Linked DNA regions of Homo sapiens: regions 1, 3 and 4 are each linked to region 2. Evidence: promoter capture Hi-C in 16 types of primary human blood cells and fetal thymus (Javierre and others, 2016). All regions are on one chromosome and are shown on one strand. The core of a region is centred on a gene start or on the middle of the fragment in contact, and the rest is flanking DNA. Distances in the headings are between cores, read along the strand shown.

Region 1 (6,755 bases), core at 2,352-4,851, 1.0 Mb before region 2:
AGAAACAGAACTCCTTTTGGACTACTAGGAGACATGGTCATTAGAATAATTATGATTCTTAGTATGACTCAACCCCTTTTTAATATTCAGCCTTATGGAGGGCCTCTGCCTGCGGCTCTTTGCTCAGGCACTAGGGCCACAGGGGTGTAATTTCTATCTCTGCCCTCAGGAAGCTCACAAACAAGTCAAGAGACAGGAAAACGGATCCTGTTTTTCTAATGGGATTTGAATGGATGTATTTATGGGAGGGGGGTGCTTTGTACACCTGCAAAACAGAACACCAGCCCTCCCTTCTCCTCTGGGGTTGCTGTGAGAATCAGTTAGAATAATGTGCATGAACCCCGTATGGAAAATACAAACTCATAATTAAATCTAAGAAATTTTTGTGGGGGGACACAAATGTTGGGGTTGTCTTTGTTCTCAGGTCCCCTCAACTGGTCTAATGAAGGAAACAGACACCTTTCCAGTAACAATAGCCAACATTTATTGGACACTTATGTACCAGACTGTGCTATTTATGACATACATTATCTAATTTCACAATCAGAAGAATGCTAGAGATAGGGTCAGGCGTTATCTCTGTTTACAGATGAGGAAAGCAAGGCTTGGAGAGAATGCCATACAGTTATTAGTGTGGCGGAGCCGGCCTTTGCACCTGGCTGTTGACCACGCCCTAGCATTAAACCATTACCTCACACTGCTTCTCCGAGATAGTTATCTTCTTGGGATCATTTAGGTGTGGCAGGATCTGGAGGGAGCAGTTGGACCCAAGTCTCCTAGCAGCAGCCTACACGTTTCTTGAGTCTGTTTTGAAACAACTTCCTTAGCCCTAGCTGCGCAGAAAGCATCCTCCCCTCAGAGTGATGATTTTTATCATGTGGTTTCCTTCCTCCTGCCTTTGGAGGTCAGGTCTTCTCACCCAGGGTCAGAAAGCCCATCAGTTGCTGATAAGCTGCAGCACTTGAGTCACAGGGTGCAGGCCTGTGTTTAGAATGGGTCATGCTCATGTCAGGCACGTGGGGAATCAGTGATCCCATGAGAGCTCGATCAGTGCAGTCTGGTTTGGAATTGCAGGTCACACCCTTCCACCACTTTGCTCATGTGTCTACTGATGCCTGTGATGTAGTTAGTTAAACCACTGACTTCTTTCTCCTGCATCAAACATGACTTTTTGAAAAAGTGTGTGGGGGCTTTCCAGCATGAACCAGGCATAAACCAGGTACCTTCATGAACATATTATTTATCCCTTCAGTCACCCTGTGTGCTAGGTGGTATCATAACTGCTTTGTGGATTGAGGAACCTGAGGACCAGAAAGATGACTTGAGGTGGCAGCCTCATTTAGCCAGCAAGTAAGAAAATGGGTGATGGTGAACTTCTGCAGCAAGAGGGGGCCGTTTTCAACATTTCTGTGAATTCAAGGCGTGTGCTTCGTCTAAATAGGTGGAGACACGTAGGAAGGCATAGTGTATACATCCATCAGCACATGGGTAGATTTTGAGGTTTTTTTTGTTTTGTTTTAAATCCAGAGCGTTGTGTATTTGATCATTCTTGGAGATTCAGCCACATTCACAGGTGTTAAGTGTCACACCTAACCTAGCAATACAATACACAGCTGAAAGAAACCAGTCAGGTTTTCCCAATATCAATTTCTTTTTATTTTCTTTTCTGCAACTCCAGAGGATTCAATAATGTCAATTTCTGATAAAGCTTTTGCTATTGATGAGTAAATTCTTCCATTAAAAAGATAACAGTCTGCTAATTTGCTTATCATTGATGTTGCAAGAGCGTAACATTGGAGGGATGAGTAATGCATCTGCATATCTCGAAGGACAAAACTGACGTCCACCCACTTGTGGATACGGTATTTGGTAAAAGTAACTAAGGTAAAATTGCCTAAGGGCATTTAACTTGAGCCATAGCTTAAATTCAGGTGATATTGAGCGTTGACATATCAGGATTCTTTTGTACACAGAGACGTGGATGTAGACCCACTGGTAGCAATTGCAAAGGCTCTGGATTTTTAGCTGCTGGATGAAATACCTGCAGCTGAACATCTGTTATGATGCAATTAAGCAGTGACTCAGTGGCGTGAAGGCTCAGTTTCGATGTATCGGGAACTCCTTTGAATCTGTCCACAAACTTCTCAACCAAAAGGAGAGGAGAAATGTGTACAGACATTTGAGAGGCTGGGTCTCAACATGCCTCTGCCTAGGCAGTCATGGGAACCTGGTCTTTTCTCCTGAGACAGGAATTAACCTGTAGTACGAGAAACATGGTTGGATGAGTGGTTAAAGCAGGGCCCAGACTTTGGTACAGTTTAGGTTATGGTAGCAGGGATAGGGAGAGAGGTGGATGATGGTAATGGTCTGTGTTTTTTTCCTTTTGTCACTCAGATCCAGCTTTTTTTTTTTTTTTTTGAGAGACAGTCTGGCTGTGTCTCCCAGGCTGGAGTGCAATGGTGCGATCTCGGCTCACTGCAACCTCTGCCTCCTGGGTTCAAGCGTTTCTCCTGCCTCAGCCTCCCCAGTAGCTGGGATTACGGGTGCCTGCCACCACTCCCGGCTAATGTTTGTATTTTAGTAGAGACAGGGTTTTACCATGTTGGCCAGGCTAGTCTTAAACTCCTAACCTCAGGTGATCCACCCACCTCGGCCTCCCAAAGTGTTGGGATTACAGGTGTGAGCCACCGCGCCCGGCCTTCAGCTCTTCTTTCTGCTATTGCTTTGGCCTAATTAATAACTTAAAGCTGGAACGTTGATGTCAGGTATGTGTAGGTCCAGGAAAACAGCTGTTGGCTCTGTTACTTCAATTTTTTTTTTACTCTATACTTTGAAGAAGTAGTACTTTCTAGAACTTGTACTCAAAACTCAACTGACAAATCCTGGAAGGCCGTTGCTTATACGCTCTAGTTGATGCGCCACAGCTGCCTGGCTGTGAGAATGGAGTAGCATGTACCTCTTAATTAGCCAAGAATAAGTGCCGTGGAAGAAGGCAGGATGACTTTTTAGAACCCATTTTTAGCTTGAAGATCACTGAGGGAGCCATCAAATCCATCCACCTGTTCAATCAATATTCAGCCAGCAAGTGGGTGTCAAGGTGAGCAGCTTACAGTGCTGAGCACACTGGAAACACAGGTGTGTAAGGGACAGCCACGGTCTCAAATTACATTCTGAAAGGGAATACTAGGTAAGTGATCCCAAACATGCAAATATCATTCCTTGGTCCTGGGATGTGGGGGAAGCATTTTGGAGGAATTGACATTGATTGCAAGTTTTTAAATATGACCTGGATTAGATTATGAGATGATGGGTGCTTGGGGGTAGGGGTGTACAGAGGGAGTCATGAAACCATGGAGGATGTTGGGGAATGGCTAGAATTCTACTTGGGACATCATGCAAGTTTTTTTTCCCCTTCCATTTCATTTGTTAATGCTTATTATTAGTTGGGGGTTTTGCCTCCTTTTTGTTAGCCAACAGCCAGCTAATCTTGGCACAGGTCCCGGGAATCAGGTGCTGCTTAGCAGCTGATGTTGGTTAAATGACCTTGGACAAGTGACTTGCATTTCAGTTCTCTAACCTGTTAGGGTTGTAGATTGTCTGATACAGATTTGAAGGCCCCTGCAAATAAATGCATGGCCGTTTACTCTGGTCACTTTCATTTTACCGAATGTGCTCCCCCAAGGCTCTTCTGGGTAGATGCCCACTGCCAAAACATTAAGCATTTTTGGCTTCTCATGCTTTGAGCTCACAAAATCAGTCCTGTGGGAAACCTAACAAGCTACAAAGGAGAGGGAAAGCAAAAGAAAAGGTATATGGATTCTCATGCAAAGAGAGAAGGAAAGTAGGTCCCTACCTAAAGTCTAGCCCTGTATTGGTGGTGGTACTGATAATGGTAATAGCCACCAAAACTTCTTGATACTCCCCTTGTGCAGGCATTGTCCTAAGTACTTTGCAGTATTGATTCATATGCTCCTCATAGCGTCCTTGTGTGATGTGTTATTTCCATTTTGAAGATGAGGAAACTGAGGCACAAAGGAAGCTGTGCCCAAGGACACTTAACTAGTAAATGGAGCCAGGATTCCAACCCACGCAGTGCGCTTTGGGACTCAATTTTTAACCATCTTGCTGTGCTGCCTGTTGAGCATTTTTCACCTGGTGCTTTTGTAGATCCCACATTAGGATTTTGTTAGGACCCTGGGCAACCTTGATTTAGTGAAAGCAGTTGTTGAGAGGTAGAAATTCCTGATCCTTTTTTCAATCTTAAAGGATTTGCTGAGACTCTCACTCTTCATTGGTGATGGTAACAAGGAGCAGCATGGTGAATGCCATGTAAAATTCAAGCCTTGCCTTATCTTGGAGGACTTTATTCCCTTTTCTTTGATGGTACTTTGGAGATTCCAGACTATAAAGGACTCAGCTGACAGTACAGACTCTCTTGATCTGTATTTTCCCAGTATATGAAATTATTTGTAATGTACCCGTGAGAACCTGGAATAAACTGTACTGGCACTGAAGTAGAATCTTGGATTTAAAAGTACAGTGTTCACTGCTGCATCGTTGAGCATTTGCTACACAGAGAATAACCTTGGAGCAATGTTCAAAGGTGATGGCATTACCCAGAAACATGGAGTTAGGCCAGGAAACCACATCTGAAGTTCAGATTATTGGAGATTGCTGATTTTTCTTGACTTTAAATATTTTCGACTGGTTGAGTGTTTGTTGGTGTTTTTGGGCTAAGTGTTAGCCTTTTGTTCTGTGATGTCCCTGTGTGAATAAAATGGATAATCCCTGTTTCCGGTTAGCTGCTGCTGCTGCTGCTGCTGCCAAGTATAAGTGAAGACTTCCAGCTGCGATTTGCATTGTGTTTTCAGGCCACCTTTTGAGTTTCCCCATAGCAGATATAAAAACTGTTTCTAAGAGTTCATCCTTACGTGTTCAGCCTTACTTGTATCCTAAAACCACAAACTTGATTTTGTTCCCATTCATTATGATCTATATTTGGCATCAGTGAGGCAAGTTATTTATATTTATTATTTATACCCTGCCCACTTCCAGAAATGATTTAATTTGGCCTAGGCAAGTGTCTTCTGATGGGGTGTGTGTGTGTGTGTGTGTGTGTGTGTGATGATAATTCTGATGTGTGTGTGTATGATGCTACTTCTGCCACTTCAAGAGTCCAGAATCATAAGATTCCTAATAGGATTGTTGGGTTGGTGAATGCTGGGTTTGTTCTCTTCTATGCCCTCTCTGTCCAGGAGAAATCTGAGTATCTTTCTTAGGAATGCCTAACACTGCTAGACTGAAAGGTGCCATGTCACCATTTTTCCCAAGAAATTTTCTTTTGAGGGTGCTATAGAGAAGCCCTCTGGTATGAATGTATTAGGCTGGTGCAAAAGTAATTGTGGCTTTTGCAATTAAAAGTAATGACAAAACTACAATTACTTCTGCACCAACCTAATATATATTATATATTCCCATTTTGTTCTTTTCAGAATAAAGCTTCCTAGGAGTTTCTCTAGCTCATGACCTCTTTTACCTTTACTTTCAGTTGCAGTGTTCTTAGCTCATAGAAGGAGCTTTGACGGCACATAGAATGAAGTATAACAGCTTCCGTTTGACCTGAGGCATCCCTCAGGTATGAGAATGTCACCCAGAGATCGAATACAGTGCCAGGTTATCAACTACCATTTTTTGGGACTGATTCTCTGCTCATGTGTGACCATTATTTGGGGAAATCATACAGTACCACAAACCAGAAGTTTCTGAAAACACCTAAACTCCCCATCTTTCACACTCACCCATAGGGACCGTGGCCCCCAATGAGGGGTAGTTCGTCTCTGTATTGGTAGCATTAGCGCACGTGCTATATAGCTCTCTTAATACCTGAACTGTGGACAGACCAGATCCTCACTGAGCTGAAGCACATTGGCATATTAAGGGAGCCCAGCATTGCTGTTTGGCCCTGCTTTTGAACTGGGAAGATATATTGCTGCATGGAGTTCTGAAAAGTACCTTTGTAAGTCCCGAGAACTCCTGTTGACCTTTGGATTTAGGTAAAATGTAAGTCTTAGGAGAATTGATGAGAATGTAGGAACCAGTTTTAGCCAATGCATTAAGACTAAAATGACTCTATTGTTTGTCAGGCTTTGCCAGAAAGTATAGTGAGAGAGAGAGATCCTAAAACTCTGAAAGCAAATAGCCCACAGCAGTTAACTGTATTGACTTTGGAAACAGGTTATAAACCCAAACCTCTGTGCTGAACTTGAATGGGTGTTTCTTCTCTCCTTTCTGAGGGTAAAAGCTGCTGGTGAGAACGGCTCTCTGGTGTTGCTAGGACAGACCTGTATGACCTTCTTTATGTAAATAATTAACAGGGGAATATTTTCATTTACGTTAAAGCCATATATGAGAGAGATTTCCGGGCTGGCTCTGACAGCCTCTGGCCCCACTGGAGAAGGAAGCCAGCACTGAAAAAATTCAAGCTTCCGGCCACACGGAACCTGAGAATATTCTCTATGACAGCAGTGGCTGTGAAGCTGTTTCTTTAAAGTAAAACCCCTTTTGAAGGTTAGTCTGGGGTGACTTTACTGTTACATAGGGAGTAGATTTTGTTTCTTGATGGTTCGTTGAGTGGTAGAGAGGTTAAAGGTAGAACTAACATATGTAGAACTAAAAAGCATCTGAAACTTTTAGCAAACCAGTAATATTTAGAGGCTTCTGCCCACTCTGGGTAGGCATTTTTATCTTGTATACCC
Region 2 (7,165 bases), core at 194-2,693:
ATTCCCAGTTTAACAAATAATGCAAATTACAAAACAAAAACATCATGACAGGGATTAAATACTTAGTATAGAAATTACAGTGCTGCATTTATCCTTTCCTCATTAAGAACAAAAGAACACCTTCTGTAGAAGTGATGACTATTTAAAATAAAAGGGAACAAGCAAGAATACAAAATATGTCAAGACTAAACCTAAGATTATTTTTCTAACTGCCTATATCAGTTGTTCAAATCAAGTCCAGATTATACTATAAAAGGCATTTTAATTACGGCTCTACATTTTGTAATTTAAAATACTTCACATGACTACAATAAACCAAAGAACACAGCAGTTTACAACCTGCTTTGGTGTCCCAACTTGCTTAGATTGTAAGGCATTCACTTTCTCATAGCGCCTTCTACAAAGGCAGCCCGAAGAAATGCAGACTACAGATGTATGTGCTTGTGTGTCCATGTATCGTGGCAACAGTCAGCAATACAGCCAGGAAAACGTGCCTTTCGGTTTTCCCCAGCACCTGTCGACTGTGGCACCTGGGGCCCGTTGGTACAATTTTTTTTTTTTAAAAACACTCGGAAAGAAAAGTTTCCCTAAACCGTTTGTACTAGACGTATAATGGATAAGTAAATAAAGGGGGAGGAAGGTGTCAGCTCCTAGGGCGACATCAGTACCTAGTCTCTCACTACTTCCTCCCTTCTCTCTCACACTCTCCCCTCTTCAAAAGAGGAGGGACTGGAAAGGAAGGAGTCCAATCCTTAAGAGAGATGGGAGAAGGACAGAGAGTCTCGGTCTCCGAGGATAAGTCCAGTCAAAAGTACAGTACTTTGTTTTTGCCGTACACAAGAGCCAGTTCAGAACCAACGCGCTGTCCCGAAGGAGTAGCAACGGTAACGGGCCCAGGGCCCTAAACCCAAGCTGTGCCCCAACCAGAGGCACTATCCCCTATTCTACAGTTCCGATAACCTTACCGTCGGACTCTGCCCGAACCAGCAGCGACATCCCCTTGAGCTCCTCCACGTAAGTGGAGGAGACGTGCCCGGTGCCTCGGTCGTCCCATTGCCGGTCTTCGTTCAGGGTATAGACCTTCACTCGCCGCCGCGTATCCGACATGGTGGCTGCTGTCTCCACCGCTCTAGCCGCCGCCTCCTCGCTTACCTCGTCCGCGCTCCTCACTCTTAGGAGACGGTAAAGGCAGTAGTGGCGGTGGCGGCGGCGGCGGCTTCGGAGAGGCCCGAATTCACCATGGCTCCAAAGGTTCAGCCGCGAGAAGGGGTGACAAGAGCCACTGAGGCCTCTCCGCCCGGAGGCCCCGTTACCTCTCACTTCACCCGCGCATACACCCACTCTCCCGTCTCTTTGCCCCCCAGGGCTCGCTTGCTCTCCCGCCGCCGCGGTAACTACTACAGATCCGCCATCTTGTAACCCGACTCTCTCTGCCTTTCTCTTCCTCCTCCAGCAGGCTCGCACGGGCTGTCCTAGCAGGGGCTACGGCGGCCGACAAGTCCCATGAGCAGCACCTCCGCTTCTGCACGCGCTTCCCAGGCCGGAATGCTCGGCGCTCTCGCGAGGAGGGGTACCGACTGGGGCGGGAGTACTTCGGCGAGACTTCCTCCTCTTTCGGCCCGACTTCCTCCTCTTTCGGCCCCGCCTCTTGGCGCGGGGTCGCAATTGGGCGGGAGGTTCTCGCGATCTCCCCGTCCACGCCTGCGCCGCGAGAGGCCGCTAGGTGGAAGGGGACTTCGGTTCCGCACGTCGTCATGTTGTTGGATGGCACCAGTATGTGACGTTCCTAGGAACTTAGCTCTGAGGAAAAAACAAAGCAAACCGGGGAAGTACGTAGCCTTGAACCGGAGTAACCAGGGACAGAAAGGAAGGAAAAGGGTTTCATACCTTCACGGAACGACGCTCACTTCGTCCGCCTGAGGAGGAAAAATAAGTTTAAACCTTTCTGTGAAAAAGAACGTGGAGCCCTTTCTGCCGAATGGAAACCCGCTAAACCCCGTTATGGAGTCTGCTACAATTAAGCATCTAACCAGGAATTGTCTATGGACACAACTCTCCAGGCAATTCATGCAGAAAGTGTGTTGACGATTTCCTGTTTCTTGCAGAGCGCTTCACCGTTAAGGCTCTTAGTAGCTGGCGATTGTAAAGCACATTTTCCGCTTCATGAAAATACAGTGCTCTTCTTGTGTTTGTAACCTTGGAAAGTAAGTCTGCTATGATAAGTTTAGGGAAGTGGCGGGGAGCTACTTTCCTAACATATCTGTGATTGTTTTGATACTTCTCAGTTTCTCGCGGGCATTTCCTGCGTTCTCTATAGGGCTCTCTTGCACTGAATAAGGAAAGGAGGAATTCTCTCTGCATTGAGGCTATTATCGCACATTGTGCGGTGGATATAGTCACGCGCTGGGTCGTAGTAGCGTGTCGTTTATTTCAGTCCAGCTCACTCTTGGTAGAATCCCTTTATTCGTTTTGTTGTTTTTGATAGTCTCTCTCTGCTTCCCAGGCTAGAGTGCAATGGCGCTATCTCGACTCACTGTAGCCTCCGCCTTGAGGGCTCAAGCGATCCTCTCACCTCAGCCTCCCGAGTAGCTGGGACCGTAGACGCCTGCTCCCCATCCCCGCTATATTCGTTCTTTAATACAGTCTCTCAGCTTGTTCAGCTGCCACTTCTGTGCAGCTCATTAGCCTGATCGGTGAAAACTAGGCGAGACGCGCACACTGACCCTGCAGTGCATCTTGGGAGTTGTAGTCATAACTAATCAATGGTCTTGTTAAAACGTGCTTATGTTTTGACCAGATCGCTTAAGTGTGGACACCCTTCAGCAGTACACTACAACGTGGGTCAGTGTACAGAACACATGCTGATAGAAATAATTTCAAAATCTGGATTCATAGTTTTTTTTTTTAATCTAGAGACCTCAGAAAATGTACTTGAAGAAAATCATCATAATATAATACATAACAATAGAGCCAATTAATTGATGTGATGAAAGTGGACAAAATGTATTTTGACCTCAGAGAAAATAACATTTCTGTCTTGGAAGAGTCAGAGAATGCTTCACACAATTTTTGAGCCTGATGTTAGACTCTCCAGCCTTCTGTCCAAGCCTCACCCTTTGGTTACTCCCCAGGAAGACTGAACTTGGGAAGAGGATTGTGCAGACCCTGGAGTCAGGCTTGGCGTTTGGGATAGGGAATACTAGAGTGCCCACAGCATGGTCTGGAAAAGGGAAAGTGGGCTGCAGGTGGCTACAGTCCCATGATTCCATGGATTTCAGACCCCTCCAAAGCACAGGGCTCAGTGCTTATCCAAGTCTGAGGGCCCCCCATAACCACATCTTCCCCAGCAGATGTTCTTTGCTTCAGGCAGTCATCAAAGTTCCACTTCAAAGAGTTGCTAACCAAATAAGCCCACAATCTTCCTTTTTTGTTGTTTTGAATAAGTAATGCCTTTACACATATGAAATTAAAAAGAGAGGCCGGGCATGGTGGCTCACGCCTGTAATCCCAGCACTTTGGGAGGGCGAGGTGGGCAGATTGCCCGAGGTCAGGAGATCCAGACCAGCCAGGCCAACGTGGTGAAACCCTGTCTCTGCTAAAAATACAAAAATCAGCTGGGCGTGGTGGTGGGGGCCTGTAATCCCAGCTACTTGGGAGGCCGAGGTAGGAGAATCGCTTCAACCTGGGAGGCAGAGGTTGCAGTGAGCCAAGATTGCACCACTGCACTCCAGCCTGGGGGACAGTGTGACAGACTGTCTCAAAAAAAAAAAAAAAAAAAAAGGCAAAGATATATAGTGAAAACTAAGTCTTCTTTTAGTCTTTGTCTCCTGCCACTCATAGAATTTTCCTCTTGGAATCACCTCTATTCCATTTTCCTGTGTATGTTGCCAGAGCAGGGCTGGCTTCATGGTGGTGACCTGTACAGATAGGCACTTGGTTTAATGTTTTGCTGTCACTAACTTGAAATTCAGGAAAGTTTCTGGACAAGGGCCCTGCGGTTTTATTTTGCACTGGGCCCACAAAGTATGTATCTAGTCCTATTCCAGAGATATTCTATGCATATACAGGTAATTATATGTAGATATGTATGTAGTGGTCCAGTAGTGGTCCAGGGCCTGTTAGGAACTGGGCGGCACAGCAGAAGGTGAGTGGCAGGGGAGCCAGCATTTCGGCCTGAGCTCTGCCCCCTGTCAGATGAGCAGGGGCATTACATTCTGGTAGGAGTGAGAACCCTATTGTAAACTGCACATGCAAGGGATCTAACCTGTGCACTCCTTATGAGAATCCAACTCCCCCTTTCCATGGAAAAATTGTCTTCCACAAAACCAGTCCCTGGTGTCAAAAAGGTTGGGGACCTCTGTAGTAGGCTACCATCTAGGTTTGTTTAGGTACACTCTATGATGTTCACACAACAAAAAATCACCTGATGATGCATTTTTCAGAAAGCATCCCCATTGTTAAGGGACACATGACTGTAATGGAATACTATTCTTTTCCTTCCTTTTTATTTTTTGTGGAGACAGGGTCTCTACATGTTGGTGCCCAGGCTGGTCTCACACTCCTGAGCTTAAGGGATCTGCCTGCTTTGACCTCCCAAAGTGCTGGGATTACAAGTGTGAGCCACCATATCTGAACCCCTGTCCCCCACTTTTTTTTTCTTTCTTTTTTTCCATACACAGTCCAGGCTGGAGTGCAGAGGTGTCATCTCGGCTCACTGCAACCTCCGTCTCCCGGATTCTAACGATTCTCCTGCCTCATCCTCCTGAGTAGCTGGGATTATAGGTGTCCGCCACCACGCCCAGCTAATTTTTGTATTTTTAGTAGAGATGGGGTTTCACCATGTTGGTGAGGCTGGTCTCAAACTCTTGACCTCATGTGATCCACCTGCCTCAGCCTCCCAAAATACTGGGATTACAGGGGTGAGCCACCGTGCCCAGGACAGCCTTTTTTGGGTCAGTGTGTATATAGAGCTAACTCATTCTACTTAATGGCTACATAGTATCCCACTGTGATAGCCGCAAAAGGCAGACAAATCCTAGGCAGACAGGGGCAGGTCCCTGGTGAAACCCTTCAAGCTGAGGACAGTTTAAAGGCTAGCCACAAGACCAGGATAAATCCACAGACCAGATTGAGAACCTCTCTTCCCATTTGGCGTGCTTTCTTCTGATTGATCCCCACCCTTCACCTATTTTACACATATCCTTTCCTAATTGTTTTTTTACACTGTTGTACCTACCTTTGAGTGGTGCTGTTGTTTTAGCCTTTTTTGCATACTCACAAACCAATCAGCATGCACGCCTTCATTCTGAGCCCATAAAAGCTGTGGACTCAGCCGCACTGAGAGAGAGACCACCTGACTTTGAGTGAGGGACCACCCTTGCATCCTCTCTCTCCTGAGAGCTGTTTCATAGTTCAAATAAAACTCTTCTCCACCCTCCTCACCCTTTGATTGTCAGCGTAACCTCATTCTTGGACGCTGAAGAAAAATTCGGGACCCACCAAACGCAGATACAAAGAAGGCTGTACACACTGTGGCCCTTTGCCCTCTGCTGGTGGAGGGCAACCGTCCCACACAACGCGATGGGAAGCAGCAGTGGGGCAGAGCCAGTCCTGAAGCCACGGGCCTGAGTGGGGCAATGGGACTGATAGAGCTGTTAACATGCCACTGTCCGTTGGCCTGCAGACGGCAGAACTAAAAGAGTGCTTAGCATACTGTAACACCTCTGGGGCTTCAGGGTCATGAGCACCCCTGTTTGGGTGCCACCACATTTCCCTCAATGTGACACACCTGGTCCAGCCACAAGCCCCGCACAGAGCCCACTCCTGCCCTGTACTCGTTCACTCACACACCCCCTCCTGCCAGGGGCTGAGGCCATGGTGGCTGCAGGATTCGTGCCTGAGCACAAGCCAGACACATCCTGGTGGGCCGAGTAGTTGGGGTGTTGCTGGCCGGAGGTCTCCAGCTGTCAAAGTGGCCAAGAAAAATCCTGCATCAACTGTACAAATGTACCCTAATTTATTTAACTCATTTATTGTATATTTGTGTCATTTCCAATGGTTCGTAATTTCAAACATATGATTGTGCAAAAGTTGTTTTATGTGTGCCAATATCTTTGTAGGTTAATTTCCTAGAGCAAAGTTTTTCAACCTAAGCACCACTGACATCTGGGGCTGGATAATTTGTTGTGAGGGGCTGTCATGTGCGTTATACGATGTATCCTATCCACCCCTATATGTTATGAAAAATATTTCAGTGGCCAGAATCCTTTCAATGACTTAAAAAGCCCTTTTCATCCTGCTTCTGCCTACCTCTCCAGCTGCATCTTAGTACCCGCACACTCTTTTTTCATACTCATGCCCCTGCTTGCTGTCTTTGCACAGGTATTCTCTTTGTCTGGAGCTTTCTTCCTCACCAATCATCTCCTAATAACTCCCATTTTATCTTTTAAATGTTGCCACTATTATCACTTCCTTGGAGGAGCCTTCTTGGACTGCCTATTTCAAATCCCCTGGGTTTTTTTTTTTTCTTTGACAAAAGCCACATTCGAACAAATCCCCCTTGGAATGTTACAATTACCAAAAAATCCAATTTAAACTAGTTTAAATGATAAGAGAATTTATTGGCTCACATAAATGAGAAGTCTGAAGATAAGGTGAACCTCAGGTTGATTTGAGTGACTTAACAGTATCAGCAGGAACTTGATTTCCTTCTACCTCTCAATTTTCTTTCTGATGTCAGATTCATCCTAAGGCTTACTCCTTTTGTATCATAAAATGGTGGCCAGGATCTCCCAAGGTTATGTAGTTCTTTGTCCATATCAAAAGAGAGTTTCTTTCACATATTTCACAGTTTCAATGTGATTAAATTAATTTAGGTCACATGTCCGCCCCTAAACCTAGAGTTTTGTGGTCTAGAGAATGTCAAGCACTGATTGGCCAGGGCAAATCAAGGCCTATCCTTGGAACTGGAAGTTACGTTAATCCCACCTAAATCCCATGAATGTTACTCTATGAGGTATCGGTAAAATCGATGCTAGGAATACAATCAGAATCCATTATATCCTATTACACGCTTATAGCACCATGCACCCCTCCATTGTAGCACCTGTCATACTTGTAGCTTTATATTTATTTGTATGATTTCTGATTAATAACTGTCTTCTCA
Region 3 (7,605 bases), core at 3,237-5,736, 1.1 Mb before region 2:
ACCTGGACTGTTGCACTAACCACCCAGTTGACCTTGCTGCCTTCATTTCCTCTCCTTTCTGCCCATTCTTACATACCACTTCCAGATTAATCATCTCTAGAGTCCAGCCCACACCCTCTACTCCCCTGGCTCAAAAGTCTCCAGTGGCTCCAGACCAGGCTTAGTTCTAACTTGCTTTTCGGGGCTTTCCTCCCAGCCTGACGGTTCCTTATCCTCCAGCCAAACTGCAGCACTTGCTGGTGCTGTTTCCTGGGCATCCATGCTTTTACTGTGCTGCTTGAGAGGAGGCTTCTCCCTTGTTCCAGCCTGTTGATGTCTACCTGTGTTTCAAGGTTTGATCAAAATGCCAGTCCCTCCTAGAGTTCTTCCCACCTACCTTTCTCCAAAAGGCAGATGTGTCCTCCTTGTCCTCTGAATTCTTAGAGCTGTCCTCCCCTGGCCCTTACTATATTCTTTTGGTACTTTACTGTTTGCACATTTGTCCCATTTCCTTTGGCTAGCAACACTCCTGGTCACTTCTGAATCTTCTAAAACACCTGGCAGTGTGCCTTGCACACATTAAATACTGTAAATACAGAACAGTAAACACTGAAGAAATAAAGAATGAATACCTCTGGCCTTCCTTTACCTCCTCCCCACTTCTGAACTGGAGGTGGTCAGATGGGCCATCAGGGATCTGTCTTATTCTTCCCTGGTCCCATCACACCAAATGGATTCCCATTTCTTACTTCTTATCCCCGTGGGGTTATTAAACCCTTCCCCAGTGTCCAAACCTTTCTAATACTTGCATGTGTTCACTCTGCCTGGTTCATTCAGTGTTGGCTTCACAGGATTGAGTGTGGCTACGTTCGTCCCAGCTCTACTGCCATCATATTATGTGCAACCTGGTTAATTAAAAATTATTTCATGTACTAACCCATACTAGAGGGAGCTGAAAGGGAGATACTGAGTGGTGACTCCCTTTCTTCATTAAGTGGCCCAATGATTAAAACGTTATAAGTTGGCAAAGCACTTTGTAATCTCATTTTCAGTGCCATAGCTGGACACTTAGAGACTTATCATTTCACCAGTATACTTAGTTGTGAAAAAGGGCTTGTTAAAAAGATCTTCATTGAGACGGTTCCCAATTCAACTTCTCTTGTAGTCTTGATGTGGTGTGTGTGTGTGTGTTTGTGTGTGTGGGCGGGGGGTGATGAAAGGAGGGGTGCATTTTGAAGAATATACTCTTAATTTTGAAAGTATGATAATTTTTAGAACATTTCCACATCATCTCCTCAGTGACCCTGTGGAGGTGGGCATTAATTATTACTCAGTCTGACAGCTGAGGTTTAGAAAGAATCCAGGGTTTCTTCTAAGGTCATAGGGTAATTAAGAGGCTTGGCCAGGACTAGCAACTCAGGTCTTGGGAATCCTAGTCAAGTGCTTTTTCCAAGACCAAGTGTTTTGTAATGCTCTGCCTAGCCTCCCATCAGCATTGTGAATTGGCAGCACTTAGGGGCTTTAAAAAATGTTCTACATCTTAGATGATAAGAAATGTTGTCTTCTTCAGGTTGGGCCTGGCTTTCAAAAGCCAAAGGTTGACATGTGGAAGTATTAAAAACCTAGTTATGTGGCTGGAAGGAGTTGGGGGTTGTTCAGCGTTGAGCAGTTAGCTAGGCTCTGGGTTTAATTCTAAGCCTGGACAGGATGCAGTTACTTCAATTACAAGTGCCCTGGGGACTGAGGTGAACCTGGGGTGGGGGACCACGTCTTTACTACATATTGGGATCCCTGAGGAATGAAATTACCTTCTTCAGTGAGTATTGCTGTAGGGCTCCAAACTGGAAATGCCAAAAGTGTAATTTGTTGTCTGCCTGTTTAGGTAGTGAGGAAAAAGGGGGGACAGGAGGGTGGAGAGAGAGGGGGGAGATCTAGAGTCAATTTCCCAAGAATACATTTTGATCATTCTCTTTTCTATGTGGAAGATTTCATTTTTGGTTGAGATTGGTGGGAGAAGAAGCTGGGAAGGAGAGATTTAAAATTTTGGAGAACCACAAGTTTAGAGGCCTTGTTTTACAAATCAGAGTAGGAATTTGAGGGTAGTTTCGGTTCCCTCATCTCCCCTCCGGATCATAAACAACTCCAGGTCAGGGATCTCGGCGGTGTTTACCTGTGTACCTTTTTCCCACAATGCCTTGCAAATCGGTGCTCCCATAAATCTTCCTTGCGTCGAATTCCTATCATAGGCCCGTGTTATTCCAGGAAACCACCGCCTTCATATCCCCTGATGGCAGCGTAAGTCAGCCGAGATTCTTCACTGAGCCCGAACTTACACCTCCCCTGGCTGTGGCGCTGCACAGCGCCCTGAGAGTGACTTTGTCTGACTTCTTCCCGGTGGCTCGCCGGGCCGCCGCCGCGTGGTTGGCGCCAGCGCACTGGGGCAGTCGCGCGCGCCCAGGTGCGGGCCGCGTTACCTCAGCAGACGCTAGAGAGTGAATGAGCCGCGCGGGCCCGGGACCCTTGGGGCTCTTCACTCTCCAGGCCGTCCCGTGGGCGCGCTAGCCTTTTCAAGTGATAGTAATCGGAGACTTTTCCGTTACATGAGGCTCAACAAAAGATTGTAATTCCAGCAGCTCTGTTTGGGAAGGCACTACCGCGGCGAGTCCAGGGCCCGGCCGGGGGTCGGCGGCTGCCGGGCGGCTGGGGCGACCGCGGACCGTGCGGGACCGGTAGGGGGTCGCGGGCCGGCTAGGCTCCCCCGCGCCCCTCCTCGTGGTATAGCCTGCATTTCTAATACAATGCTGTTATGCTAATCAGGTGACATCACCGCCCAGCACACGGCGAGTGGCTCCTGATAAAATTACAAACCGGCGGCCGCCGCGGGCAGCTGGGAGGAGGTGTGCGCGCTGCGCCCGCGAGCTCCCGGGCTCGGCAACCGTGGCATGCTTAGGATTGGCCATATTTAAAAGTTCTGAAGTAGAACCTGCGCCTCCTCTCTGCTTCTCCCTCCTCCTCAGTAATTTATTTCGAGCTTCCAGGCAAGGGCCACGGAAGAAGGGAAAGCAAGAAATTAGATGCCTGTGTGGTAACTCCTCGCGGAGCTAAGGTGGACTCTCTTGCAGCCAACTTCCCATCAGATCACCCTGCTGGACTTGCAGACCGGAATGGGGCTCGCCTAAGGAGCCGAGCGCTGCGGAGGCTGCTGCGTGTTGGATGGGAGTGGGAGGGGGCTGGAGCGAGATTTCCAGGGCGCAGTCCTCCGGGGCGTTACGCCGGGCATAATGGAATTGCAGAGGACGTCTAGTATCTCCGGGCCGCTGTCGCCGGCGTACACGGGGCAGGTGCCTTACAACTACAACCAGCTGGAAGGCAGATTCAAGCAGCTGCAAGGTAAGCCCCCTCCCAAAGGCCGGGCCTGTCCTGGGTGCCAACGGGGGTTCTTGGAGGCTTTATTTGTGACCCTAATGAAGACGGGCGGCTTCACAGCTCGGCCCCAGACCCTGTGGTTGGCTGCGGGCACCCCATTCACGACTTAGGGAAGGCAGTTGCTCATACTCCACTCCAGAAGAGCTACCATTTGGAGTCCCTGTCTCTCCAGCACCTTTTTGGCTTTCTAGGTTGTCAGATAACTGCTGCACACACATTTTCTTTACTTTTAGCTAACTTTACCTCCTAGTAGATCAGTGCTCATAGACTTATTAGTATGCAGGTATTTGATTCCGGGTCGCCTCTGGCTCCCAGCCCCCAGCCTCTTACCTCTGGGAAGCTTTAAAGGTGTAAAGTGCCGTGCTCAGACCCAGTCCTGTAGAACAATAGCAAAGGGGAGGAGGGAGGGGTCTTTTTGTTCCTAAGCCTTTGGTAAATTACAGTTTTTTATTCAGAAGCTTAATTTTAATTTTTCTGATGTGTTGGGAAGAGCCTTCCCATCTATTTAGTGGGCTATATAATTTCTAATGAAAGCCGGTTATTGTCATTTCAACCCTATGGGTTGGATTAGTTGGATCAATTACAGGTTTCTTGGAGTCTTTTTAAGGCTCAGACAATTGAATGAGTCCAATATTTTACTGAACATATTTTTAGGGAGAGCAGAAGCCTGTGTGTGCACCAGTGTGCTGTTTTCCCTGCGGCCCCTGCACCCCTCAGCTGTCCCTGCCCAGCCAGCAGGCCCTGGCCAGCAGTGTCTCAGAGCTTATACATGAAAAAAGGTTCCTAACTGAAAACAGAACTCCTTCCGTTTGGAAGCCCCTGGAGTCAGTAGTAGGCTGGGAATGGCTCTAGCACTGTAAAAAAGTAGTATTCGAGGACTGTGTGTTTCTTATTTTAACCTCCTCAGTGCTGCAAATGTGGTTCCTGTGAGGAGGAGGAAGGAAGGAAGCCGCTCAGCCCTAGAATGTTTTTCATTGGGAAGAGGGGGGAGGATGTCTTTCATTCATTGGTTTATTTGTCTTGTGAAATAGTTGACAGTAATGACACTTCTCTGGAAAACGAGGCAGAACAGGACGTGATTTTAAACATTTGCTGGGCTGTGCCACATTCCTCTGGCAGTTAGCTCAGAGGAAGCTCCCTTCGCTCTGGGGAACGGTTCTGTGTCTCTTTGGTTCATTTCTCTTGAGCTCTTCGGCAGTCAAATTTGCTTTTTTGAAAACTTAAGCTGGGGGCGCTTGCAAGTAGTAAATAGAGGAGTTGGGGTGGGGGGGGGCGTTCATTATCTAGGTTTGTTAGGGGCCTCACGGTTTTCGGGTCGGAGAATCCACTGCGTGCTCCTCCTCTTCCCCTGGCCCGGACTCCCAGCTTCATTGTGTCATCCCGCCTGGGGGAAAGCACCCACCGGGATCGTCAGCCCACTCCACCGCCAGCCTAGCCTGGAAGTCTCAGAAAAAAAGCAAAACTGGGAGAAAATAGAAGGTGTGAGGGAGGAGTGCACCCCTAGGCCCACCCATAACAAAAGGCTGTTATTCCGAAAGGGCTGAGGAAGGTTTTAAAACTGCTCGCCGAGAAGGGTGGAGCCTACACACAGGAAATGTCTTAACTGTCCTCTCTGGACAACGTAAAGTTTAAATTTAAAAAAAATCATGTGCCCCTGATATTTTACCTCATACGCTGTTTCTCAAGGAAATCCCTTCGAAAGGGGTAAGCTTCGTGTTTTGTGTGGTAGCTTTAAAAATAATTTTTTTTAGTGTGACCCTTGTCTCCTAATTTAGCCCCAGTGACTTTCTTATTTTTAAATATTGTGGTTTAGGAGTTGCACAAGTTTAGTGTTGGTATTTCTGTAGCAGAAAACCACCCATGTTGAGGAATTGAGAAAGGGTGAATTAACTTTCAAGTATGGTGGACCTCAGGAGAATTACACACATTTGTCAGCATCCTTCAGAACAAATGAACCGATTGCATTTTAAACAATCCTAGGAGAATTTTGATTAAACACACACACACAAAACCTTTCTTTAATTCCCATCCCTGGTTTTGTGTTTTGTTTGGTATTTGTAGTTCTGATTATCACATATTTTTGATAACATATAATTTCTATCTGCTGATTTAATTTTGTACATTCCTGCAAGGGTGCCTTTTTTTACTCTTCTGAGTATAATCTTTCCTAGCACATAATCTCTGAATATTGGCAAAATGCTCCTCTGAAACTGTATTGGGTTTTTTGTTTTCGTTTTAAGAGACAGAGTCTCACGCTGTTGCCCAGGCTCTAGTGCAGTGGCACAATCACGACTCAACAGCAGCCTTGAAGTCCTGGCTCAAGCCATCCTCCCACCTCAGCCTCCCAAGTAGCTGGGACTATACCATGTCTGGCTAATTTTTAAATTTTTTGTAGAGACAGAGTCTCACCATGTTGCTCAGGCTGGTGTTGAACTCCTGGCCTCAAATGATCCTCCCGCCTTCACTTCCCAAAGTGTTGGGATCACAGATGTGAGCTACCTTGCCAGTCCTGTACTGGGTTTAATGCCTCTGATATGAACTTATTTATGTATTGTCTGTGCCTGATAGTGCTATGATTTTTCTGGAGTTGTTTCTGCATTTTGGCTGGTTTCAAGTTACTTTCCACACTGGGTCCTAAAAATTTCAGGAGGTGTGCCATAGAATGAGATTTGGAGTTCTGGCTAAGGAGAATATAATTTTAAAATGAGTCTGGTCTATTTAGATAAAATGGTTTATAGCGATTTATAGTTTATAAATTTATAGAGATATTATAAATTTATAGTTTAAATATAGTTATATATAAATATAAATCGAGTTATATATTTATATATAAATATAGTTATATATAGTTTAAAATAAAAATAAGGATAGTCATAAATATATAGTTTATAGAGATTTATGGTTTGTAGAGATTTATAGTTTGTAGAGATTTGTGGGTCAGTAAATAAGTGTGATTAAAAAAAAAACCTCATTGAGATACAAGAGTGATGGCTTTATCACACGAAGCCTCCTGGCATAAGAAGACAAGCCCTTCAACCTCTGATGGCTGTAGCATTCACCACCAACACCCAACACCCAACACACACACACCCACCCCTTCCTCTTTTTCTTTTTCAGATTTTCACCTGCAAAATTAAGTTATCACTTTCCTCAGAATCAGTTCATGTATCGTATAAAGTTGTATTTGATGTTTTTTTCTCTGTTAAATAAAAGAGGAATGTTGAAATACAGCAAAACCCAACCTCCCATATTTAGAGAACTGTGTAGTAACAGAGGTGCAGGTTCATGATAACCATCTCTCCACTTCACATCAGCCAGCTTAACTCCTCATGAGAGAACACTCATCATGCCACTTTCCCCCTCAGAAACAGTTGCTTGTGCCATTGTGTAAATGAAGTTCCAGAGTCTAGCTTGGCCTTCAAAGATTCTCCGTAAAATGGCCCCACTCCACTTACTTCTTATTCTAATATATTCCATTCAAATCTGGTAGGCAGGCCTACAGCTTTTTATAAAACCCATCCCTGGGTTTCACGCTTATCTTCTACATTTTGCCTCAAATGCCTACTCTTCCATTTCATCTATAGAAATGCTTACTTTTCTTTTCTTTTTCTTTTTTTTTTTTGAGGCAAGGTCTGCTTCTGTTGCTCAGGCTGGAGTGCAGTGGTGTGATGATCTTGGCTCACTGCAACCTCTGCCTCCCAGGCTCAAGTGATTCTCCCACCTCAGTCTCCCCAGTAGCTGGGACTACAGGCACTTGCCACCAAACCCTGCTTTGTGTGTGTGTGTGTGTGTGTGTGTGTGTGTGTGTGTGTTTTGTAGAGACAGGGTTTCACCATGTTGCCCAAACTGGTCTTGAACTCATGAGCTCAAGTGATTGGTCTGCCTCGGCCTCCCAAAATGCTGGGATCACAGGTGTGAGCCACTGCACCCGGCCTAGAAATGCTTACCATTTTTAAATACTATGCCTGCATTCCAATTATTCCATAAAGTTTCTTCTTTCTTGTCAGGGTTACTGGGAAAAACGATTTTGTTGAGTGCTTACCATGTACCAGTCAGAGCTTTCTATATGGAATTTTGTCTGGTCTTTATAACATACCTGTGAAGTTTTAGAGGTGATAAGATAGAGGCAAATAACTCATCCAAGTTCACAGGCATTGTTGAGTTTAGGCTGCACGGTGTTCTGTAACTTTCTCCTTTCAG
Region 4 (7,343 bases), core at 3,311-5,810, 1.0 Mb before region 2:
AAATAGGCATTTCCTCAGAGGAACTGCTCTCTGCCTGCAGAGCCCCGATAGTCACAGGAGTCTGGTATCGACCCTTGGCCCCACGTTAAGGGCGTTTCAGACTTTCCTGTCAGAAGTGACACAGAAGTGCACATGTTGCTGTGGGGACGGAAGCATGCCGCACTAGGGAATCCGATGGCCAATAATGGAGGCAAGACAGAGGACGCTTCTTTCCTTTGCAGAATTAGCTGCTCTTGGGGCAGGCTTCAGAAAGTGTTTACTGCTGAGAGGCGCCCCCTCCCTCTGCTCCATTGTGTTTAATTCTCTATTGTTACCTCTTCTTCCTTTTGAGAAGATGAAGTTTGGCAATATAAAAATAGCTCTTTAAAAAAATGAAAACCAGCCACCAGATGGGAACCGAGTCCCTCACTTCCTTTCACATGGAAGCATGTACCCCTCTTCCCTGTATTCTGGGTTTTTCCTGTACTGTAAAGAGGACGAGCTTTAAGTCCTGGTTCACCACATCCTAACTAGCTGGTAGATTGCTTCATCTCTCTGAGCCACTGTGTCTTCATGTATAAAATGACAGGAATAGTAATTATTATAATGCAGGGTTACTGTGAGGATTAGATGTGATCACAGTTGTCAACCACCTAGCAGGGAGAGGTGAACACACAGTAGTTGCTCAGTAAGTGGCAGCTATGAATTTTTAGATCTTGGGAACTTTGAAGTTTGTATGACCAACATGTTTCTATGGATAGCTCTGTGAGATCATGATCACCTCTTGAAATTAATTTCTTGTAATTACTGCTTCCTAAACTTGCCCAGGTATTGTGCTTTAAAACATGTGAGAAGCCTACTCTGAAGCAGATAGAACACACGTTGTGGGAGTGTGTGGTGTACTTGAGTTTTAGTCTCAATTCCCACTCCTCTCGTATAGTACCACCAGGAGGTCATCTCACCTTGCTGTATCTTGTTTATTCTTGTTATTCTGTGGCTTGCTGGTTTTTGAGTTGCATCCAGGTCTGGAATGAACCATCCCTTAGTTCATCTGGCACAGCCAGTCGCCATCAGCATGGGGTCCCTGTGATGTGGCATTGAACTTCTTCAACCTGCGTGAATGTGTTTGGGCCCCATCACCACCCTCCCCCTCCCACACCCTGGACCCCATGTTCATGTGGAAGCACACACACATTCCATTGAGATTTGTAGAGAGAGAATAGAGTTGTGGAATGTCTCATACATGTTTCCTGTTTGTGGGGAGGAGATTCTGAGAGGACCACTTTTTCTACCGCATTCATTTGAATGTAAGTCAGACAAGTGATTATTTGAGATCAAGCTTTCAGGATAAAGTCTGAAAGAACATTGGTTATGTCCTGCTGGTTGGAGCCTGGGAAGGTACCGACAGTCCCCATCTATTCATTATTCTCTTCCTTAACTTCTCATAATACCATCCACACTGTCGCCTCCACCCTCTTGGAGGGAGACTTATGAGAATGGCTGCTGCAGTTAGAAGTTTCTGTCCCCCTTGATCTGCAGTTCCCATCATGAAGACACTTTGTTTGTGATGGAAACAGCACATGTAGCTGGACCACTCACTATCTCACTGCTCAGGTGCACGAACTGACAAGAAATGAGAAGAAAAGGCCCCTGAACAGCAAAAATGTCAGAAGCCCCTGCACCTTTCTTAGAGGCAGTTAATCCCCATCCCTCAAATTTGAACAGTTTTGAACCAGGAGCTTCGTTCAATCCAGAAACCACCTGGATGTGAGAAGAAAAGGGGCTGCTGTGAATAGTCACGTTTCAGCATGAGAAATGATAGCTGATCCAGGAGACAAAAGGAAAAACTTAAAGAGCACACATGAGAGCCATATGCAGTTCTGTGACTGCTGGCGGGGAGAGCTGCTCCACCCACCTCTTCTAGGGCGGCACCGATTACACAGGCATCCCTTTCTCGGATAGGAGCGTAATGGTGTCTGGGCCAGCTTTAGGAGGCTGACGGGTGTACCGTGGAGAGAGAGCACCAGTGTTACCTCAAACAGCACTTGCAGAATCAGAGTTACAGAATTTTAGATTAAGCCCACCCGTATTTTATATCTATTTTTTCCTACCTCGTTAGATTGCTTGATTTTGATGCAACCTGGCATTGCACAAATAGCAAATTCTAGCATTTCCCACATAACCGAATTAAAATCATTTTGAAGTTTCTAAAGGCAAAATCCACCTCTTTCTTTTTTTGGGGTAAGGAGGATATCACATTAATGTGAAAAGCTTAATGTTTAAAGACATTTCTTTTTCCATTGCTATTATGGTCTGGTTCTGCATCTGCAGATTTAACTGACTGCAGGTAGAAAATATTCAAGGGGAAGAACAATGAAAAATAACAATACAGAAATAAACAGTGATACAATTTTTTAAAAATACAGTATAACAACTATTTACATACCATTTATATTGTATTAGTTACAAATAATATAGCCATGATTTAAAATATATGGGAGGCCGGGGGGCTGGCTCACGCCTGTAATCCCAGCACTTTGGGAGGCCAAGGTGGATGGATCATTTGAGATCAGGAGTTCAAGACCAGCTTGGCCAACATGGTGAAACGCCATCTCTACTAAAAATACAAAAATTAGCCAGGCGTGGTGACTGGTGCCTATAACCCCGCTACTTGGGAGGCTGAGGCAGGAGAATCTCTTGAACCCAGGAGGCAGAGATTGCGGTGAGATCGTGCCATTGCACTCCAGCCTGGGCGACAGAGCGAGACTCTGTCTCAAAAAAAAAATTAATAAATTAATTTTTAAAGTAGATGGGAGGATGTGCATAGGTTATATCAAATACTGTGCCGTTTTATATAAGCGACTTGAGCATTTATGGATTTTGGTATCATTGGGGGTCCTGGAATCAATCCCCTGTGGATACCAAGGGACAAATATATTTGAAAATAAAATTTTTCTACTTGTGGTAGGCCTCTGCACATAATCTTATTTCCTCAAGGTCAACCACATTCTTCTGTTTTTACTTGTCCTTTTTTATAGGAGAAAAGAAAGTGAAAAATAATAATCTGAGACTGGACAGACTTAAAATGGCCGCTTGTTACCCAAGTAACCTTCCTTTCAGACGTTTTCCGTACAGCACATAGCTGAGGATCTTAACTACCCAGGGGAAGAGCAGGGAATGGACAAGATACTAAGGTAGGGCTGGCTGCTGCCCTTAATTGCGTGTACCTGGGTTGCTGCAGCCTGGCCCCCTTTCCCCTGTGAGGTCCGCTCAGCACACACCAAGCCCAGTCTGTCTGCTGGCATTCAGTTCACTGTGCACATAACTCTGTGCTCAGAACTGGACCAAAAACCCCTGAGAATATAGAAGTATAAAGCCTCATCCTTGCTCTTAGGAAGCGAACAGTCTAGTTGGAAGTAATAAGAGCAATAAATGAAACAACAGCAAAATTATAATGATGAGTTCCTGGGCTCTGTGGTCCAGCCTGTTAGTTGTAGAGTTGTGAGGAAAAGAAGAGCTGTGAGAACCAGAATGATTGGAAATGGGAATGTCTCCGGGAAGGAAAGATGGGCCTTGGCCTGAGCCTTGGAAGGTAGGTAGGTGTGATGAGGTGAAGAGATTGGGAAGTCAAGATGATGGGTCACAGGCTGAGTGCGTTCTTCTACATGTGGATGTGTGCATCCTCCTGGCATCTTTATGAGATGGTGACATCAGCTCCAGGTGCAGCCTCTACTAGAGGGGGAGTGATGGGAAATAGGAAGGAGAGAAGGATGGAGCCAGATGGGCGAGGGCATGAGCTTGGTGTTGGTACAACAGATAATAGAAACCCATTTTGTGTGCGTGTGTGTGCATGCGCGCACGAGTGCGCGCATGCACACACACAGTGGATCCTTGAACAAAGCAGGGGGTTTAGGGGCACCAACCCCATGCCGCTGAAAATCTTCCTATGCATTTGATTCCCCCAAAACTTTTAATAGCCTACTGTTGTCTTATCAATAATATAAACAGTCAATTAACATATTTTGCATGTTATGTGTATTACATTACTGTAGTCTTAAAGTAAGCTAGGGAAAAGAAAATGTTAGAAAAGGAAGAGAAAATATATTTGCAGATTCATTAAGTGGAAGTGGATCATCATAAATGTCTTCATCCTTGTCTTCACGTTGAGTAGGCTGAGGAGGAAGGTGGGGGGATTGGTCTTGCCATCTTGGTGTAGTAGAAGTGGAGGAGGTAGAAGGGGAGGCAGAAGAGGCAGGGACACTTGGTGTAACTTTATGGAAATAACACAAGCAGTCTTGAATAATTGGAACCCTTGGAACAAATTCAATTTGTTTTCTGGTACTGCTTTTACATCCTCTTCCGCATCATTTGTCATCTTTTTGGAGACACTCATTTTCATCAAGTCGTCTTCCGTTAATTCTTCTGATGTGGTGTCTGATAGCTCTTGAATTTCTCCAAGATCCGTATCATGAAAACCTTCACCCCTCTACCTTTTTGCCATATCCACAACCTCTTTCATAATTTCCTTCATTGGCTCTGTCATAAATTCTGTGAAGTCCTGTGTAACATCTGGACATCATTTTCTTCAGCAGGAATGTATTGTTTCAGGCTCGATGGCTTTCACAGCTTTTTCTGTAACAATGATGGCATCTTCAGTGGTGTAGTCCTCCCAGATTTTCCTGATGTTCTCTCTGTTGGGGATTCTATTCCATAGCATCAACAAATCTTTCCATAGAGTTTTGTGTAGTAATGAGCGTTACAAGTCCTTATGACCCCTTGATCTAGAGGCTGAATTAGGGATGTTGTGTTTAGGGGCCAGTAGACCATGTCAGTGCCTTCAGTGTTGAACTCATGGGGTTCTGGGTGGGGGCATTATCCAATACCAAAAGAACTTTAAAACGCAGCCTCTTACTGGCAAGGTACTTTGAGACTTCAGGAACCAAAACATCAGTAGAACCAATTCAGAAAACCGGTTGTCATTGTCCAGGCCTTCTTTTTGTACAACCAGAAGACTGGCAGCTGGTATTTATTTTTTCCCTTCAAGGCTCAAAGGTTAGCAGCCTTATGAATAAGGGCAGTCCTGATTATAAACCCAGCTGCATTTGCACAGAACAGTAGAGTTAGCCTATCCCTTTATGCCTTAAGTCCTGGTGCTCACCTCTCTTTCTCTTACTGGGCTTTTGTGAACAGGGCACTTTCGTCTGCATTAAAAACTTGTTGAGGCAAGATACACTTTTCCTTCATTGATTTTCTTAATGGTGCCTGGGAACTCATCTGCTGCCTCTTGGTCAGCAAAAGCTGCTTCTCCCAATTCCTTGACATTTTTTAAGCCAAACCTCTTTCCGAAATTATCAGACTGGGAGCTCTGTGAACCTTTCCTGGTTCTGAGGGCTACCCAATTAAAAATTAATAGTCATGCCATCCTTTGCTGGTGTTACATTCTCCAGCCTTAGATCCTTCACCTTCCTATGCCTTTAAATTGTCATATGATGACTTCATTTTTTCTCAAATCATATTAGTCCTTAGGTATGCCTCTCTTATGGCAATCCTGCACTCACATAAAAGATGCATTTTTAATTAATTCATTATTTATTTATTTATTTTGTAGAGACGGGTTTTTGCCATGTTGTCCAGGCTGGTCTCAAACTCCTGGGCACAAGCAGTCTGCCCGCCTCAGCCTCCCAAAGTGCTGGGATTACAGGCATGAGCTGCTGCACCCAGCCAAACGCTGCATTTTCAATATGAGATAAAAAGATATTTCACAAAAAAGTGCAAGGTCTTTGCATCTGCTGGTGTAGCTTCAGGGATGGCTTCACAAATTTCCTTTTCTTTTTTTAGTCTTCAAATGGTGGGCCACCACAACTGTAGACCTCAATCTACAATACATAGCAAGCAGTTCATCCTTTTCTTGTAATGTCATGACTTCTCTCTGCTTCTTGGGAGTACTTCCAGCATCACTAGTGGCACTTTGGGTCTCATGATATTAGTCAAGGTTTACAGTATTGCACTAGACACTGTGAAAAATACACAAGAACTGTGAGAGATGGCTTTTTACTGTGATACCCAATTTACTAGAGAGACCACGTGGAGATGATTAGCATCATAGGCATTTTAAGTAGGCACTCAACAATACTTGAGCTCATCACAGTAGGAGTTAGAGATGGCTCTGAAATTACTATAGTAGTACAGTACATACCAAGATTTAATACTGCTCAAATGGTGCCATTACAATCTGTGTTTGTGTGTATGAGTTTTGATAATTTTTAATTTTATGACAGATTTGTATATATTTTGCGGTAGTAAATTATAAAATAGACTAACATCTATATATATTTTATGCATTCATGACATACCTTTTTCTTAATTTTTCTGGTATTTCTAGGCTAGGCCATTCATCTGAATCTTTTCAAATTGTCACCAATCTCTAAAAAGTTTTCCAGTTTATTTATTGAAAAATATCCATGTATAAGTGCATTTGAATAGTTCAGGCCCAACTAAAGGTCAACTGTGTATATTTACTATATTTTTATAGTAGATGTGTGTGTGCTTTTACAGGAGACGTATATATACTTCTATAATAGTATATTTTATAGTAGATGTATATATACACATATGCATTATCTACTCTCTCTCTATATATATATTTTTTGTTTGTTTGTTTTATTTAAAATGTTCACCTTCCAAGGGCCTCTTTTACGTTTTGATAAAACTGGGTAGAGGGAAGAAACATTTGGGGTATTTAAATTGCACTACACTCATTTTTTTCCCTTTTCCCCTTCTTTTCAGTAAGTTATACTTCTTTACTTAACCTTCACCCCATCCCTCCACACACAACCACCACTTGGAAATTCTTCTGATTTGATGGTTGTGTTCCCTGTTTTCATTTTGAGCCAAGCTTAAGGGTTGCCAGCAGGTGGCAAACCTAATTTTACATTCCAAGTAATCAGAAAATCCTCACAGGTGTTTTGTCATGCACCTGCAAAAAAAAAAAATTGTATGGATGGCAGCAGTAGCGCTGAAATTCTCCATGAAAATTGGATTCTCTCTTCCCTGAACTTAAACAAATGCTCATTTGTAAACTATATAGCTCCACAACTATTCTCTAAAGAGGAATCAGTTATCATCCCCTTAAGTAAACTTTTTTTCTGTGGCCGTTAGGTAAATACCGTCCTTGGACTTAATGAGTACATGTGTTTGTTAATGTTCTGCTCTGAGCGGGAGAGCATTGCATGAATGGGCACATGTGACTAGGCAGTAACTCGGGGTTCATCTCTACTCTGTTGGGTGATGTGTCTCTACCTCTGCTCTCCTGTTTCTAGCCTAAACCCACCAAGGGACGAATGCGCATCCACTGCTTAGAGAAT

What was found. The method cuts DNA at HindIII sites, captures the fragments that hold promoters and counts their contacts. A CHiCAGO score of 5 or more calls a contact.
Region 1: a contact is called between a fragment that was not itself captured here and the fragment with the promoter of PPP4R3B in region 2, in 1 of 17 cell types (total CD8 T cells). The highest score is 5.6, in total CD8 T cells.
Region 3: a contact is called between a fragment that was not itself captured here and the fragment with the promoter of PPP4R3B in region 2, in 4 of 17 cell types (neutrophils, total CD8 T cells, activated CD4 T cells and 1 more). The highest score is 7.4, in neutrophils.
Region 4: a contact is called between a fragment that was not itself captured here and the fragment with the promoter of PPP4R3B in region 2, in 1 of 17 cell types (total CD4 T cells). The highest score is 5.3, in total CD4 T cells.

The regions. Positions count from the first base shown.
Region 1 is chr2:54,573,655-54,580,409 of GRCh38, forward strand. The region is part of intron 2 of SPTBN1 (spectrin beta, non-erythrocytic 1); the gene reads left to right. Among named protein-coding and RNA genes, the nearest start is that of SPTBN1-AS1, 18 kb to the left of the region's middle. RefSeq lists silencers at 844-1,003, 1,074-1,133 and enhancers at 5,537-5,586, 6,586-6,635. The HindIII fragment of the contact is 3,791 bases long and covers 1,707-5,497 here.
Region 2 is chr2:55,616,179-55,623,343 of GRCh38, forward strand. PPP4R3B (protein phosphatase 4 regulatory subunit 3B) reads right to left here and starts at 1,444. Exons shown (of 17, transcript NM_001122964.3): 1 at 966-1,444. The coding sequence starts at 1,107. PPP4R3B-DT (PPP4R3B divergent transcript) reads left to right here and starts at 1,752. Exons shown (of 3, transcript NR_186624.1): 1 at 1,752-2,204. RefSeq lists enhancers at 400-1,326, 1,327-2,251, 1,345-1,744, 1,765-1,814 and a silencer at 4,260-4,309. The HindIII fragment of the contact is 10,945 bases long and covers 1-7,165 here.
Region 3 is chr2:54,555,519-54,563,123 of GRCh38, forward strand. The region is part of intron 2 of SPTBN1 (spectrin beta, non-erythrocytic 1); the gene reads left to right. It overlaps SPTBN1-AS1 (SPTBN1 antisense RNA 1), which reads right to left and starts at 3,187. Exons shown (of 4, transcript NR_185881.1): 1 at 2,150-3,187. RefSeq lists a silencer at 2,585-2,724 and an enhancer at 4,726-4,895. The HindIII fragment of the contact is 1,251 bases long and covers 3,862-5,112 here.
Region 4 is chr2:54,604,863-54,612,205 of GRCh38, forward strand. It overlaps SPTBN1 (spectrin beta, non-erythrocytic 1), which reads left to right. Exons shown (of 36, transcript NM_003128.3): 4 at 7,299-7,343. Among named protein-coding and RNA genes, the nearest start is that of SPTBN1-AS1, 50 kb to the left of the region's middle. The HindIII fragment of the contact is 4,624 bases long and covers 2,249-6,872 here.